Linked DNA regions of Homo sapiens: region 2 is linked to region 1. The links are contacts of gene promoters, found by promoter capture Hi-C in blood cells and fetal thymus (Javierre and others, 2016). All regions are on one chromosome and are shown on one strand. The core of a region is centred on a gene start or on the middle of the fragment in contact, and the rest is flanking DNA. Distances in the headings are between cores, read along the strand shown. Region 1 holds the start of TRIM54 (tripartite motif containing 54). Region 2 overlaps CAD (carbamoyl-phosphate synthetase 2, aspartate transcarbamylase, and dihydroorotase).

Evidence for each region. The method cuts DNA at HindIII sites, captures the fragments that hold promoters and counts their contacts. A CHiCAGO score of 5 or more calls a contact.
Region 2: a fragment that was not itself captured here is called in contact with the fragment with the promoter of TRIM54 in region 1 in 2 of 17 cell types (M2 macrophages and M0 macrophages); the score reaches 6.6 in M2 macrophages.

What each region holds. Positions count from the first base shown.
Region 1 is chr2:27,280,762-27,287,493 of GRCh38, forward strand. It overlaps TRIM54 (tripartite motif containing 54), which reads left to right and starts at 1,668. Exons shown (of 9, transcript NM_187841.3): 1 at 1,668-2,138. The coding sequence starts at 1,971. It overlaps DNAJC5G (DnaJ heat shock protein family (Hsp40) member C5 gamma), which reads left to right. Exons shown (of 7, transcript NM_173650.3): 7 at 1-738. The HindIII fragment of the contact is 12,114 bases long and covers 1-6,732 here.
Region 2 is chr2:27,241,486-27,248,646 of GRCh38, forward strand. It overlaps CAD (carbamoyl-phosphate synthetase 2, aspartate transcarbamylase, and dihydroorotase), which reads left to right. Exons shown (of 44, transcript NM_004341.5): 39 at 426-638; 40 at 817-942; 41 at 1,135-1,290; 42 at 1,387-1,488; 43 at 1,713-1,807; 44 at 1,931-2,458. The coding sequence ends at 2,033. Among named protein-coding and RNA genes, the nearest start is that of SLC30A3, 18 kb to the right of the region's middle. RefSeq lists an enhancer at 1,152-2,351. The HindIII fragment of the contact is 5,629 bases long and covers 1,069-6,697 here.

The DNA of each region.
Region 1 (6,732 bases), core at 418-2,917:
CCTTGTTATTGGAACCAATGCCAGCTGGTAGGATCCCTGAGCCCCTTGCGATATCACCACCAAGAGCCTGATAACTGAGCAGGGTGGATCCTGTCCCTGGAGCTGCTGCACCCATTAATTCTCCCTTGTTGCAACTCTGTGTACCAAGAACCCCTAGCATCAGCCTCATTCCTAAGCCAATAACGCCTGTATGGAGTTGGTTTCATCTTCTGGTGCCCACGGCCATTGGCATTGCCAGCCTCATTCCATGCCACTATGAGTCAACTCAGGAAAACTGCGAGTGCATTTGAGGCTTAGGGGTAGTCATTCCATCTTTAGATTATCCTTGGACTTCAGCTACCAGCACAGCATGCATTAGCCTTGGTCCTGTAGGTTAACTGAAGTTCAAACATCAGTGCCAGCTTGCCTCCATCCTTTTCACATATTATGCAGGCCAATTGACATATAATTTGTTCTTAAAAATAGGGGCATGAAATATGTGATCTGGAAAAGATTGTACTTTCTGGACTCTTTTCCCACTCTTGCCTCTTTGTGCTGCTGTTTCGTATCCTCCTCACACCGTGTATTTCCCACCCACTCAGGGTCACAGCCTACTAATTCCTCAAACTTCTCTCCCTGGACTAGGAGAAAGGCTAAAGAATGTCAGTAAATAAAAGAGCTTTCATCCAATCCCAAGGCATATATTATGCCCAAAAAAGACAAATTGTGTCTGGGGTAGAGAAAAAAGGCCTAAAGAAATTGCTTCTTGGCCTTTTGCCTAAGATCAAGTGGAGAAGACTTGTAGGAGAAAAAGAAGACCAGTGCTCACAAGTGGGGCAAGCCTGGCTTGGAGAGTAGGAGTCCTGGACAACTGTGGAGCTGGGTCAGAGGCTTCCCGGAGCCTTGTGATTATGACTTTGTCAGTGCTCTAAAATTTCCCTGGAGATTGATTCCCTGGGTGCCCAAAATAGGTCCCTGGCATTCAGGTCCTTTCTGCCCAGCTCACCTTCTCCCAATTTCCTAACAAATTTGAGTCCTTGGAGTGGCTCCAGGGATGTGTTCACGGACCAGAATCCCACATTTCCTCGGGGGCATGCTCATAGGTAGGTCCAGGCCTTGGCACAACAGTCATTTCTAGCCTCTTGAGCTTCTTTTCCTAGGGTGATATAAGAAAAGGCCAGGGAAGAACAAAAATGAGCCAGAGGTGTTGGACAAGAGGCTTGATGTAGTCCCTGGAGCTGCTGTTCTGAATCACACAGTCTTGAGGAGGAGGACCAGGGTCACTGGCTGAGCCTGTGGAGGAGGCAACCGCTACTGACTCTAAGTCTGGCAAGATCTTTCCTCCCACCCTGAGCTATGTATGGGTGCCTCTCACACAGGCAGATTTAGATTCTGTGTCACTGTCCTGGAAGAAGGGCCCAAGCCAGAACAGGGGTCCCGGGCTGAGAGGAGCCTTCAGAGTGAGAGGGCAGCACCTTTGCTGACCCACCTTTCACTGTAAGCAGTGGCACTCACCCCTGCCCTTGCTCAAGGGAGTCACCCATTCCTGAGTGAGTCAGGGTCACTCACTCCATGACAGCTGTGGCTCGCCTTACATGAGCTAAATTGGGAATTGGAATGTCATGCAGATGCCCCTTGTCTCCCAACCCCCACAGTAAAATTAATCTGCTCTCTGGGGAGTAAGGGACAAACAGTGCTACCCACAGAGTGAACAAGAGAGAGTCATTTGGGAAACAAAAGGAGAATTTTACAGAGAGAGAGGGATAGCTAAAACTACGTGAGCCTGGCGAGGGTGCAGAGCAGAAAGTAGAGACTGTCCGAAGACTGCTATCTGGGACGAGACAAGTTGTTAAAGGGACAGGAGAGAAAGCAGAGCTATTTCAAGAGTGAGCCACAGAAGGGAATCCAGAGGCCATCTAAGCGAGGAAGGGTCTACAGGCAGTGAGTGAAGGCCAGGAGCAGGGCCCAGGCCAGGCACGACCACCGAGGGGATGAACTTCACAGTGGGTTTCAAGCCGCTGCTAGGGGATGCACACAGCATGGACAACCTGGAGAAGCAGCTCATCTGCCCCATCTGCCTGGAGATGTTCTCCAAACCAGTGGTGATCCTGCCCTGCCAACACAACCTGTGCCGCAAATGTGCCAACGACGTCTTCCAGGTGGGTGCCAGGGACGGGGCAGGGCCAGGTAAAGCAATGCAGACCTGTGGGGGACTGATCAGGTCAGAGCTGAGACCCCAGAAGGTGATGGATAGAGTGCTCTCTGAGGTGGGTGGTGGCTGTTGTGGCTGGAGAGCAGAAGGGCTGGGGTCCAAGCAAATCCCAGAGCAAGCATGAGTCAGCAGCTGCCCTGCAGGCTGGCAGGTACAGCCTGTGCATAGACGGCAGCTGGAGTGCTGGGATCTACCAAGGAAAGTAGACCCTGTGGAAACTGGGAGGGAGGGTATCCCACACCGGGCTTTATAAGAGCCTGTGCCAGACTCTGCATTCCAGTTTGGAGTTTCAGACTTCGAGAGCATTGTGGAAAATACGGAGAAAAGATTAATGAGATAATGAAACGTTAAAAAACAAACAAACAAAACCCGACCCTGTGAGAAAGCTCCATAATGGCAGTAAAACTATTTGTATTTAAGGAAAGTTGAAGGCATCCATTGTGGGTGACAGAGTTAGACATAGTGGGCAGGAGACTGGGAACTCTCCCCAACTTGAGTTCATACCTGTTACCCTCCAGATTGTTCAGTAAAGAGGCCTACTGGTTAAAAGCTACTGAGGTCACTTGACAAGCAGGGAGAAGGCAAAGAAATTTACTTCTCAGAAGTCCAGCCAGTTTTGTTTTATCTGTGGTCATGGGGCCAAGCAGAGCTAATCAAATTCACAGATACTAGTATAGCCACTGGTTTAGAAATAAAAGCAGCATATACCAGAATGGATTATAAGTGGGCTTTTTTTTTTTTTCCTGTGCTACTGGGGAGGTTCTAGTAGGCTATAAAATGGAACAGAGATCAGGGAGAGTGAGGGGCAAAGGCACACACACACACACGCGCGCACACACACACACACACACACACACACACACACACACGGCCTTGCCGTTAAGTAAAAGCCCTGAATATGGCCAGGTGCAGTGGCTCACGCCTGTAATCCCAACACTTTGGGAAGCTGAGGCCAGCAGATCACGAGGTCAGGAGTTCAAGACCAGCTTGGCCAATATGGTAAAACCCCATCTCTACCAAAAATACAAAAATTAGCCGGGCGTGGTTGCAGGCGCCTGTAGTCCCAGCTACTCAGGAGGCTGAGGCAGGAGAATCACTTGAACCCAGGAGGTGGAGGTTGCCTTGAGCCGAGATCATGCCACTGCACTCTGACCTGGGCGACAGAGCAAGACTCCATCTCAAAAAAACAAAAACAAAAACAAACCCCGAATAGACCAGAGCTGGCTGGTTTAGTATGTGTGTCAGTGACATGGAACATCCCAAACAAGTATTCTTCATCTGTGTCAGAAATGATGAGGAAATGTGTTAAACACAAGTGATTTTTAACCTAACCAAGAAAATACTTCCCTTTTTAAGTTCCTTGGGGCAGCTTGTTTTGGAAAGGAATGGGCTGGCTAGGTCAGGCCATCCCACAATGTACCCTGTGACCCACACCTTGTGTGTCTGCTCTGTGCCACCTTCACTGAAGACCAGCACTCTGTGGTCTCTCCTGCCATCTTCCCATTGAGACCCATTCCCTCTCCTATTCTTTATGTGTCCAAACCTGCCATTATTCAGCTCCAGAGTATCTCAGAGCCAGTAGATTTTCCCTCTCGGGGGGCCTAGACCAAATGCTGTGCCTCCTCGTCCTGGGCATGAAGTCCTACATGAGAGGCAATGCTTTGCCCACCATCTTGGTTTTTCCTTGGTCTAAGTAACTCTGAACATCCTTCAGGCTGAGATGCCTAGGAGGGAAATGGCAGAAAGATTTTGCCATCCTTTCTCATGAACTTACAGTGAAACATCCTCACACTGGAACTTGAAATGTGTGAAAGCAAAGAGAAGTTTTGAAAGCTAAGGTGATGTGTCCTGTAGAAAAGTGGTCAGAAGGGCCAAGTGCATTCCTGGGTCCCTCTGTCATCTGGCAGAGGAATAGGCCCCATACATGGAGGCTAGAATGTGTTTAAGTGACCTGCTTATTTAAGTCAACTCTCTCTATCCAAGCACACTGTTTCAGTTCCAGAAAGCTCTAGAATACGGATCTGGGCTCAGAGAGACCTTGGAATGGCTTGGGGCAAATCCTGTACAGAATATTTGGAGATAACATGATACCCAGGGCTTTGGGGTGGCTCTGTGGATCTGGAGTGGTGTATCTTTTGAGGTGCAAAGCACCCTTGGGCCCTCCAAGGAGGAAGAGTGAACAGCTCATCCCTTGCTGCTTATTTGGGAGGGCCTGGTGGGAGGCTGACCCAGTTCTTCAGCTGCACTTAGATCTGTGTATCTCAATATATCTCAGTAGATCTCCCTCTGAAAGATGAGCATATTTAGTTTTTTCGCACATTGCCTCCACATTTTGACAACTGTAGGCATAATCAGATTGTCTGTTTTCTAAGTATGGGGCAAGAATAGGACTTTTGGAAAGAATAGGACTTTTCCTCTACCTTCAAACCACTTAGGAAGAATACCCTTAGAGCATTGCCTAGAAAGTTAACGGTTATCAAAGTGATACCAGTATATCACTTAGAATTTGTAACATGTAAACATACTGTTTTCAAGCAGTATAGGAGTTCATATCATGAAAAGCAAATCTGCTATTCACCTCAGACCCTCAGTTGTCTCACCAGATAGAAGTAACTATTACCAACTTTCTTGGGAATACTTCCAGAAAATTTCCACAAATCGGCACATTTGCATGTATATGTGTTCTCAGGCGAGACCCATCGCCCCCCACCTGCCTTTGTTCACTTACTCGCTGTGGGTGATTGTTCCATATCCACCATTCAGATTTATGTCTTCGTTTTTAAATAGCTGTGTAGTTTTCATTGTTATGACTGGACCACAGTCTATTTAAATAATCTGTCCTCTAAAACATTTAGATGGTTTTCTGTGTTTTGTTGTCCTAAAAACTGCCGTGATGGACAACAAACAAGAGTTTTTGGGAATTGTGATTTTATAAGACCAAGTTAACTAGACAGCCAGGAAGCAAAATTTGAAAACAATTTATTTAAAAATACTGGCTACGTAAGGTGGCTCATGCCTGTAATCCCAACACTTTGGGAGGCTGAGACAGGAGGATCACTTGAGCCCAGGAATTTAAGACCAGCCTGGGCAACATAGTGAGACCTCATCTCTACAAAAAAGAAAATACTGTTAGTTGAACAGTATTAAGGGGTTGGGAGGAAATCATCCATAATCTTACCTCCCCAACACAGTTATTTTTATTTTTGCATATTATTTTTTTTTTTTTGAGATGGTGTCACATTATGTTACCCAGACTGATCTTGAACTCCTGGGCTCAAGTTATCTTCCTGCCTCAGCCTCTGGAGTGCACACCACCAAGCCCAGCAATTTTTGCATATTACATTCAAGCCCATGTCCGCAAACATTTTTACATAGTGGCCATCTTAATGTAATTCTTTTTAGAGCTGTAACAACTCTTTCTCTCTGAATTGAAACAGAATGAAACACCAAGACACCACATTAACCCCCTCTAATTTCTTCCTCCTTCTTTCCCCACACTTGCACCCACTCAGCTACCAAGAACTTCCACTAAAGGAAAGCTGTTGGTGTGGGAATTTGACACAAACATCTTCCCATGTGTTTCTGTATTTGTAAATTCTATTCACTCCTAAACGGCTTTAAAGCAAGCCTTCAGTTTATTTTTATACCTGCCTCCACTTCACTGTGGGCACTTGTTTTTGAGCCTGCAACCTGTTGTAATTTAACAGACAACCAAAAGGCCTTGTAAGAAGGTTGTTCTGGAACAGCTTTTCTGGAGGAGGTCTGTCTACAGAGGGACTTGCAGAGGGGGGATTGTCAAGAAAGAAGCCTCCTTCTCTAACAAGGGGCAGTCTGAGAGAGATGACTTTTGTTTCGCGCCACCCAAATTCCATTTCTTTATCCTTTAGTTGTTAGGACCAGGTGTCATCAGGTACAGGCCTGCCAGAGAAGATCCTACCCAGCCTGCCTCCTCAACCACTTCTACCCATTCTGAAGGCACCAGGATTTCTTCAGTCCAACTTTGGGCAGGTCTCCCTGATGCAAAATTGGTTCACTAAAATTTTGTGAATTGCATTAAATTTGTAGCAGGGTTAGGGCTCTTACTTCTGTAGGGAAGATCTTGATTTAGTGAGAACGAAAACCTAGACTAAGGCTTAGCACTCCTGGATTCTCCTCTGACGGGTTTCTTTGTTAATTTGCCACACAATGCATATCAGGCTATTTCACCACTTCAAGCCTGTTTACATAACTATAAATGAAAAGGGTGTTTTCTTTCTTTCTTTATTTTTGAGACAGGGTCTCATTCTATCACCCAGGTTAAGTGCAGTGGCATGATGATGGCTCACTGCAGCCTCGACTTCCCAGCCTCTAGCCATCCCTCCTACCTCAGCCCCCTGAGTAGCTGGGACCACAGGTGTGCACCACTATGCCTGGCTAATTTTTTTGTAATTTTTTGTAGAGACAAGGGTCTCTCTATGTTGCCCAGGTTGTTCTCCAACTCCTGGACTCAAAGGATCCTCCCACCTCAGCCTCCCAAAATGCCAGGATTACAGGCATGAGCC
Region 2 (7,161 bases), core at 2,633-5,132, 37 kb before region 1:
TCCTCCCCCTGCCATCCCGTCCCCTTATGCTAGTCCATCCCTCTGCTGCTGTAGATCTTCCCCCACGTTTTCCCTCCCCAAAGCAGGATTTAGCTGGCTGGGGAGGCCCTGAGCATGAGACCATCGCCCCACTAGTGGGGTCTTCTGGTCTGGGCTGCTGCAATCATGGGAGAGAGCTAGGGTGTGTCCTCCTTTCCCAGCTCGTTCAGACACTTAATGATGGGTGGTTTTCTGGAGGCAGAGCCTTTAGCTCAGAGTGACACCAGTGGTGGAAACGTCAAGGCTCTGACAGGTCACAGGGGAGGTTTGGGTGCAGAAGGGTCCTCACAGCACCCCTCAAGTGTCAGTTGGGGTGGTGGTGCCTAGCTGGGGTTTCCCCAGGGTGGACACGCATACGTACACCTTCCATCTTGCTCTTTCCCTAGGGGAAGGTCATGGCCTCCATGTTCTATGAAGTGAGCACACGGACCAGCAGCTCCTTTGCAGCAGCCATGGCCCGGCTGGGAGGTGCTGTGCTCAGCTTCTCGGAAGCCACATCGTCCGTCCAGAAGGGCGAATCCCTGGCTGACTCCGTGCAGACCATGAGCTGCTATGCCGACGTCGTCGTGCTCCGGCACCCCCAGCCTGGAGCAGTGGAGGTGAGGCCAGCCTGGGTACTGAGATGGGGTTAAGAAGGCTGGACCCAGGGGCATGAGAACCCTTCTGCCCACGTTTTCTGTGTTTTGGGCCAGATGAGTGAGGGGACCCCAGAAGAGGGGGACTGGCAGTTGGGGGGCCTCTGAGCTGCAAAAGACAGGATTTTCCCCTTTTTTCCAGCTGGCCGCCAAGCACTGCCGGAGGCCAGTGATCAATGCTGGGGATGGGGTCGGAGAGCACCCCACCCAGGCCCTGCTGGACATCTTCACCATCCGTGAGGAGCTGGGAACTGTCAATGGCATGACGGTGAGGGTGGTGGCAGGGTTTGGATCCCTGCCAGGGGACGATCTAGAGAGGGAGGCAGGAAGTGGTTACCCCGGTACAGGACAGCTGCATCAAGGAGGCCTTCATTCTGCTCCAGAGGCTTTTAAAAGCTTGGAAATGATGTCGGGGGGCACTCAGTCTGGGATCCCTGTGGTGACTGGATTCCTCTCCTAGATCACGATGGTGGGTGACCTGAAGCACGGACGCACAGTACATTCCCTGGCCTGCCTGCTCACCCAGTATCGTGTCAGCCTGCGCTACGTGGCACCTCCCAGCCTGCGCATGCCACCCACTGTGCGGGCCTTCGTGGCCTCCCGCGGCACCAAGCAGGTGAGACCCTCACAGCCCTGCCTGGAAGCCATGGAGATGTGGGTTGGGCAGTCAGAGCCCAGCGCTGCATCCACCATGGCTCTCCTCACCCTCCAGGAGGAATTCGAGAGCATTGAGGAGGCGCTGCCTGACACTGATGTGCTCTACATGACTCGAATCCAGAAGGAACGATTTGGCTCTACCCAGGAGTACGAAGCTGTGAGTGCTGGGCTTGAGGAAGAAGCCAGGGCTGCTGCCGTAGGGCATCAGATATGAGGACAGAAAGGCTGGGCTGAGGGCTGGGTCAGAGCTGTTAAACTTCACATCTGTCAATTGCCATAGCTGCATGTGGGTGTGGAGGGGACCCCAGTGGAGCCCAGACTTGTGTCCTCTGTAGCCACTCCTACCCCAAGGCACTAATGGGGACCCCATCTGCTTTGCAGTGCTTTGGTCAGTTCATCCTCACTCCCCACATCATGACCCGGGCCAAGAAGAAGATGGTGGTGATGCACCCGATGCCCCGTGTCAACGAGATAAGGTGGTGCAGCATCAGAGTCAGAGACTGCCTCGGGGCTGGTGGACGGGAGGAGACTTAGTCCTGGACAAGCCATCCATGGGCTGCACGATAACACTTCCTTTTTTTTTTTTTTTTTTTTTGCAGCGTGGAAGTGGACTCGGATCCCCGCGCAGCCTACTTCCGCCAGGCTGAGAACGGCATGTACATCCGCATGGCTCTGTTAGCCACCGTGCTGGGCCGTTTCTAGGGCCTGGCTTCCTCAGCCTCTTCTCTTTAGGCCCAGCTGCTGGGCAAGGAATTCCAGTGCCTCCTACGGGGGCAGCACACTTAGATATTCCTGGACATCCAGATAGCTCACATGTGCTGACCACACTTCAGGCTCTGGACTGGAGCTCTCTGGCATGGGGGTGGGGCCTCAGATGCTGGGGCCCAGTCTGCCCCATCTTCATTCCTGCACCTTAAACCTGTACAGTCATTTTTCTACTGACTTAATAAACAGCCGAGCTGTCCCTTGATGCTGAGTGTAGTAGAACAGAGCTTTCTTTTAGAAAATTGAGCAGATTCCCAAATTATAAGAGCAGCCTCACCAGGCAGGGCTCTGGCTAGGGCTGCGTGCCCACACTCGGCATTTTCACACTCGTGACTCTTTGGGACTCGGCAGGAGCGTGTTAACTCTGTGCTCTCTGAGTCCTGTGTCGTGCTGATGCCAGCGCTTACCTGGGGGCTCTGGCTGGTGTCCAGCCCTCCTTCCTCAATTCAGTTGACTCAAAGACCTGACAGAGAGTTCTGCCCTCTTCCTGACACTGGGAGAACACTCATCAGGGTAAAAGGAAGGCTGAGCACTGCGGCCTGTCTGAGGCCAGGCCTGGACTCTTCCTCACTCTTTCTGGTTAGTCCTCCTCCAGTGGCTAAGGCTGCCATTGCATTCTCAAAACCACCCTGGAGTTCTTCAGCCACTGTCACTATTAGGAGCCCCTCCTATTTCCCATCCCTGGGAGCCTCTGCCTGACATTGGACAGAGGGGCAGATGCCATGGAGGGCTGAGGAGCACTTTGGCTTGGAGACCCCAGGGCAGCAGCCTAAGGGCAGTAGCTTATGTGTCTGTGGGTGAGGGCTTCTGAGGAGCAGCTGTGCCCTCCAGTGAACTTGAGTAGCATTGGAGAAATCTCATTTCTTGTTCCAACAAAACTTAGCACTCTGTGGGTACAAAGCACCATGTGCAGTGGGAGTACAAGGAAGAACAAGGCAATTCTCACCCTCAGTTTTCAGCCTCGGGTCATAAGGCTTCCAGTGGCTTCTACAGATTAAACTGCTGCACACTGGCACATGATAGTGCAAACTGCTCTGACACCATTCAGGAATCACCTACTTCATCCAGAGAGTAACAGCGTATTCTAGAGATGAGAAAAGGAGAAGGACCTCGTTTTTTGAGAACTTAGTGTGAACAGGAACTTGATGCGTATTCTCATTTCTCACACCAGCCTTCCACCCATTTCACAGATGTGGACACTGGCTCAGAGAAGTGGTGGGGGCCGGTGGCTCACCCCTGTAATCTCAGCATTTTGGGAGGCTGAGGCAGGCGGATCACCTGAGGTCAGGAGTTTGAGACCAGCCTGGCCAACATGGTGAAACCCTGTCGACTAAAAATATAAAAATCAGCTGTGTTTGGTGGTGTGCGCCTGTAATCCCAGCTACTTGGGAGGCTGAGGCAGGAGAATCGCTTGAACCCAGGAGGTGGAGGTTGCAGTGAGGCAAGATGGCACCATTACACTCCAGCCTGGGCAACAGTGACACTCTTATCTCCAAAAAAAAAAAAAAAGGTGGTAGCTTGCTGGGCCACTCACCTTGAGACTCATACGCAGGACTTCTTGACTTAACAACCCACCTTTCTGTTAAAAGGAAAGGTCATTTCTGGCTTTAAGGGCATCCAAAAACCAGTGGGAAAGACAAGCCACAAATCTAAGCAGTCCTGTAGGGAACCAGTTTCCAGAAGAGGTCAGCACAGATACGGAGTCGGAGAACCCTGTGCCGTGGGGTGTGAGCTGTGTCGTGAGGAAGGACGAAGAGTCTCCTTTACAGTACAGTTCGAGAGGAATGGAAATTGTGTCTGCGGTACAGTGAGGAGACACTGAACGCAGCAGGAGATTCCTACTGAGTATTGTGAGGGTTGAGAGTCTGACGGACCAGAACAGGGGGCTTGGATGTCAATTCCAACAAAAATATTAATTTACAACCACAGGTACTATTTGAAGGAGGGTATTAAGTATAATGCTAAGTCCTAGAGTGTGGAGGCCTCCAGTCCTGCTAATGTTAACCCTTTCCAGTCTTTCCAAACCCAGATTCCTGCCTGACAAGGTCTCCCTCAGGTACCTGGAGGACTTTATTGGTTGGAAAATAGAGTACCATTTCCAGAACTCTTCTTTTTCTTTCTAGAGACTCCATTTCCTTGCTTAAACTCTTAGAACAAGTCAGAGATTATTTTCCCAATTGTACTCATGAGTACTTGGGACTCGCACACAGATTCCCACAGAACTTGGATAGCCTCACCCTCAAGTAGAAGCAGTGTTTTCTGCCAAGTAGCGGACGCATTTTACTTAGTTGCTAAGTGGTGGGAGATGTTCCTGTCCTGAGCCTTTCTTTGGCTCTCCTAATCATAGCTCAGCTCTGAGTTGAATAAAGTTTTTTCCCGTATGACCAGAAAGTAAATCTCATTATATTGGGAAACAAAATGAAAAAACTTACCAGCAAAAACCAAAATTAGCCCTTTATTTTTTAAAATTTTTATCGTTTTGAGATGGCATCTCGCTCTGTTGCCCAGGCTGGAGTGCAGTGGTGCAATCTTGGCTCACTGCAACCTCCGCCTCCCAGGTTCAAGTGATTCTCCTGCCTCAGTCTCCCGAGTAACTGGGACTACAGACATGTGCTACCACACCCAGCTAACTTTTTGTATTTTTAGTAGAGATGGGGTTTTGCCATGTTGGCTAGGCTGGTGTTGAACTCCTGACTTCAAGTGATCTGCCCGCCTCAGCCTCCCAAAGTGCTAGGATTACAGGCATGAGCCACCGCACCCAGCCAAAATTAGCCCTTTAATACAATACCTTTGGGCCTGTTCCACATCCACTGAGAAACAACTTCATATCTGCCATGTAATTGTCATGAAGCATAAAAAGTTAGTTTGCTTCCTGAGGTACTTAAGAGGTTTGATCTATTTCTTCTATAAGAAACATTTATATGCCAAGCACTGTTCTAAGCGCTTTACAGATACATCCCTTTGACACTTGGATGAATCCTTTGACTATCCCCCACCTTGAAAGAAGTGTGGCTAACGTTGGGTTGCTATTACAGCCATTTTCTCCCACCTCTTCACTGTCCACCCTAGTGAAGGAGACATCCCCCTCAACATAGGTAGTCCACCGGGAGCTTTGTCAGCTGCACTCTAGTCCTGGCCCTTACAACTAACTACCTGCAACCATGGCAAGTCAGTATGCCTGTGGGCTTTTATTTTTTATACTAAAATTTTGTTTTTGAGACAGGGTCTCATTCTGTCACCCAGGCTGGAGTGCAGTGGCACGATCTCAGCTCACTGCAGCCTTGACCTCATGGGCTCAAGTGATCCTCCCACTTAAGCCTCCCAAGGAGGTGGGACCACCATGGCCATACCACCATGCCCGGCTAATTTTTTGTGTTTTTTTTGTAGAGATGGGGTTTTGCCATGTCGTCCAGGCTGGTCTCAAACTCCTGGAGTCAAGTTATCCTCCCCACTCAGCCTCCAGAATAGCTGGGACCACAGGCACATGCCACCACACCTGGCTAATTTTTGTTCTTGTTTTGTTTTATAGAGATGGGGATTCGCCATGTTGCCCAGGCTGGCCTATTACTTTTTTTTTTTTTTTTTTTTTTTTTGAGACGGAGTCTTGCTCTGTTGCCCAGGCTGGAGTGCAGTGGCGCGATCTTGGCTCACCGCAAGCTCCGCCTCCCGGGTTCACGCCATTCTCCTGCCTCAGCCTCTCCGAGTAGCTGGGACTACAGGCACCTGCCACCACGCCCGGCTAATTTTTTGTATTTTTAGTAGAGATGGGGTTTCACCGTGGTCTCGATCTCCTGACCTCGTGATCCGCCCGCCTCAGCCTCCCAAAGTGCTGGGATTACAAGCATGAGCCACCGCGCCCGGCCAGGCTGGTCTATTCCTGGGCTCAAGTGATCCTCCTGCATCAGCCTCCTAAAGTGCTGGGATTACAGCCATGAGCCACCATGCCCAACCCACCTATAGGCTTTAAAAGGGTAGTTGGCAATTCCCAGTGTAAAATTGCAAAGTGTCTGTAGTTCTGCAGTAATATCCCCTGGGACAATGAGGGGGCATTGGCTGGTGGAGGTGAGGAGCAGAGAATGAGGGCCAGGATGGGATGAGTGCTTAATGGAAGACTCGTCTGGCAACAGTGCCTAGAAGAGAGAAAGGAGCCATTTCACCATCAGGACGCCAATTAGGAAGTTGTTGCAGTAAATACAGATCATGGGTGAAGAGGTTCTAGATTCAGAGATAGGAATAGATGTTATAACACTGAGGAGAGAGGAGAGTGAAGAATGACTGCACAGTGTGGGACCTCAAGACTGGAAGAAAGAAGACTGATGAAGGTAGACCAGATAGCCAGTTTGGGGTAGGGGAGGGCTGATTCCATTTGGGCATGATACCTAGCTGCCGTGGGCCATCTATATGGAGATGTCATGGAGGTAATGGAGCTGGGGAGTTGGAGCAAGCACAATAGAGACAGGTGGCATTTATATGTGACAACACAAGTGCCATGAGAGCAGGGACTTTACTCACTGATGTATCCCAAACACCAGAACAGGGTTGAGCACATAGTAGGTGCTCAGTAAATGTGTTGACCGAAGCATCAACATAAAGGTAATTGAAGCTTTTAAAATATGCATATTTGTTCACCAAGAGAATAGCGGCAAGCCTCAATTTCAGCAAGGGCCGCAGGAGAACTCAGGAGAAAGCCCTCAAGAGGCCCAGAATTCCAAGTGTGTGAGGGACGGGAGACGTATTGGCAGATTCAAATCCTGTAGCAGGCCAAAGAGAAGGAAATTTGAGGCAAGGACCTTGTCACAATAGTTGTTAGGCTGATGCTTTGTGGTGGTAACCAGGTTTCACGAGGTTACTGAGGGACTGGTTTAGAAGCTGAGGTCATTTACCAAGTGGCAAGGAAAAAAATGGGTGTTGAGATTGGGAGCTCAAAGGCTTTAGAGAAGGTCAGGGAAGCTGTGATGAATCCGCAGGAGATTAATAGAGTCACAAGCAGGACTCAAGGGGAAGCTAAACACTGAATTTGTGGTGGGGCTGGGGGAAGCCATGTCCAGGGCAGGGGCGTAGAAGG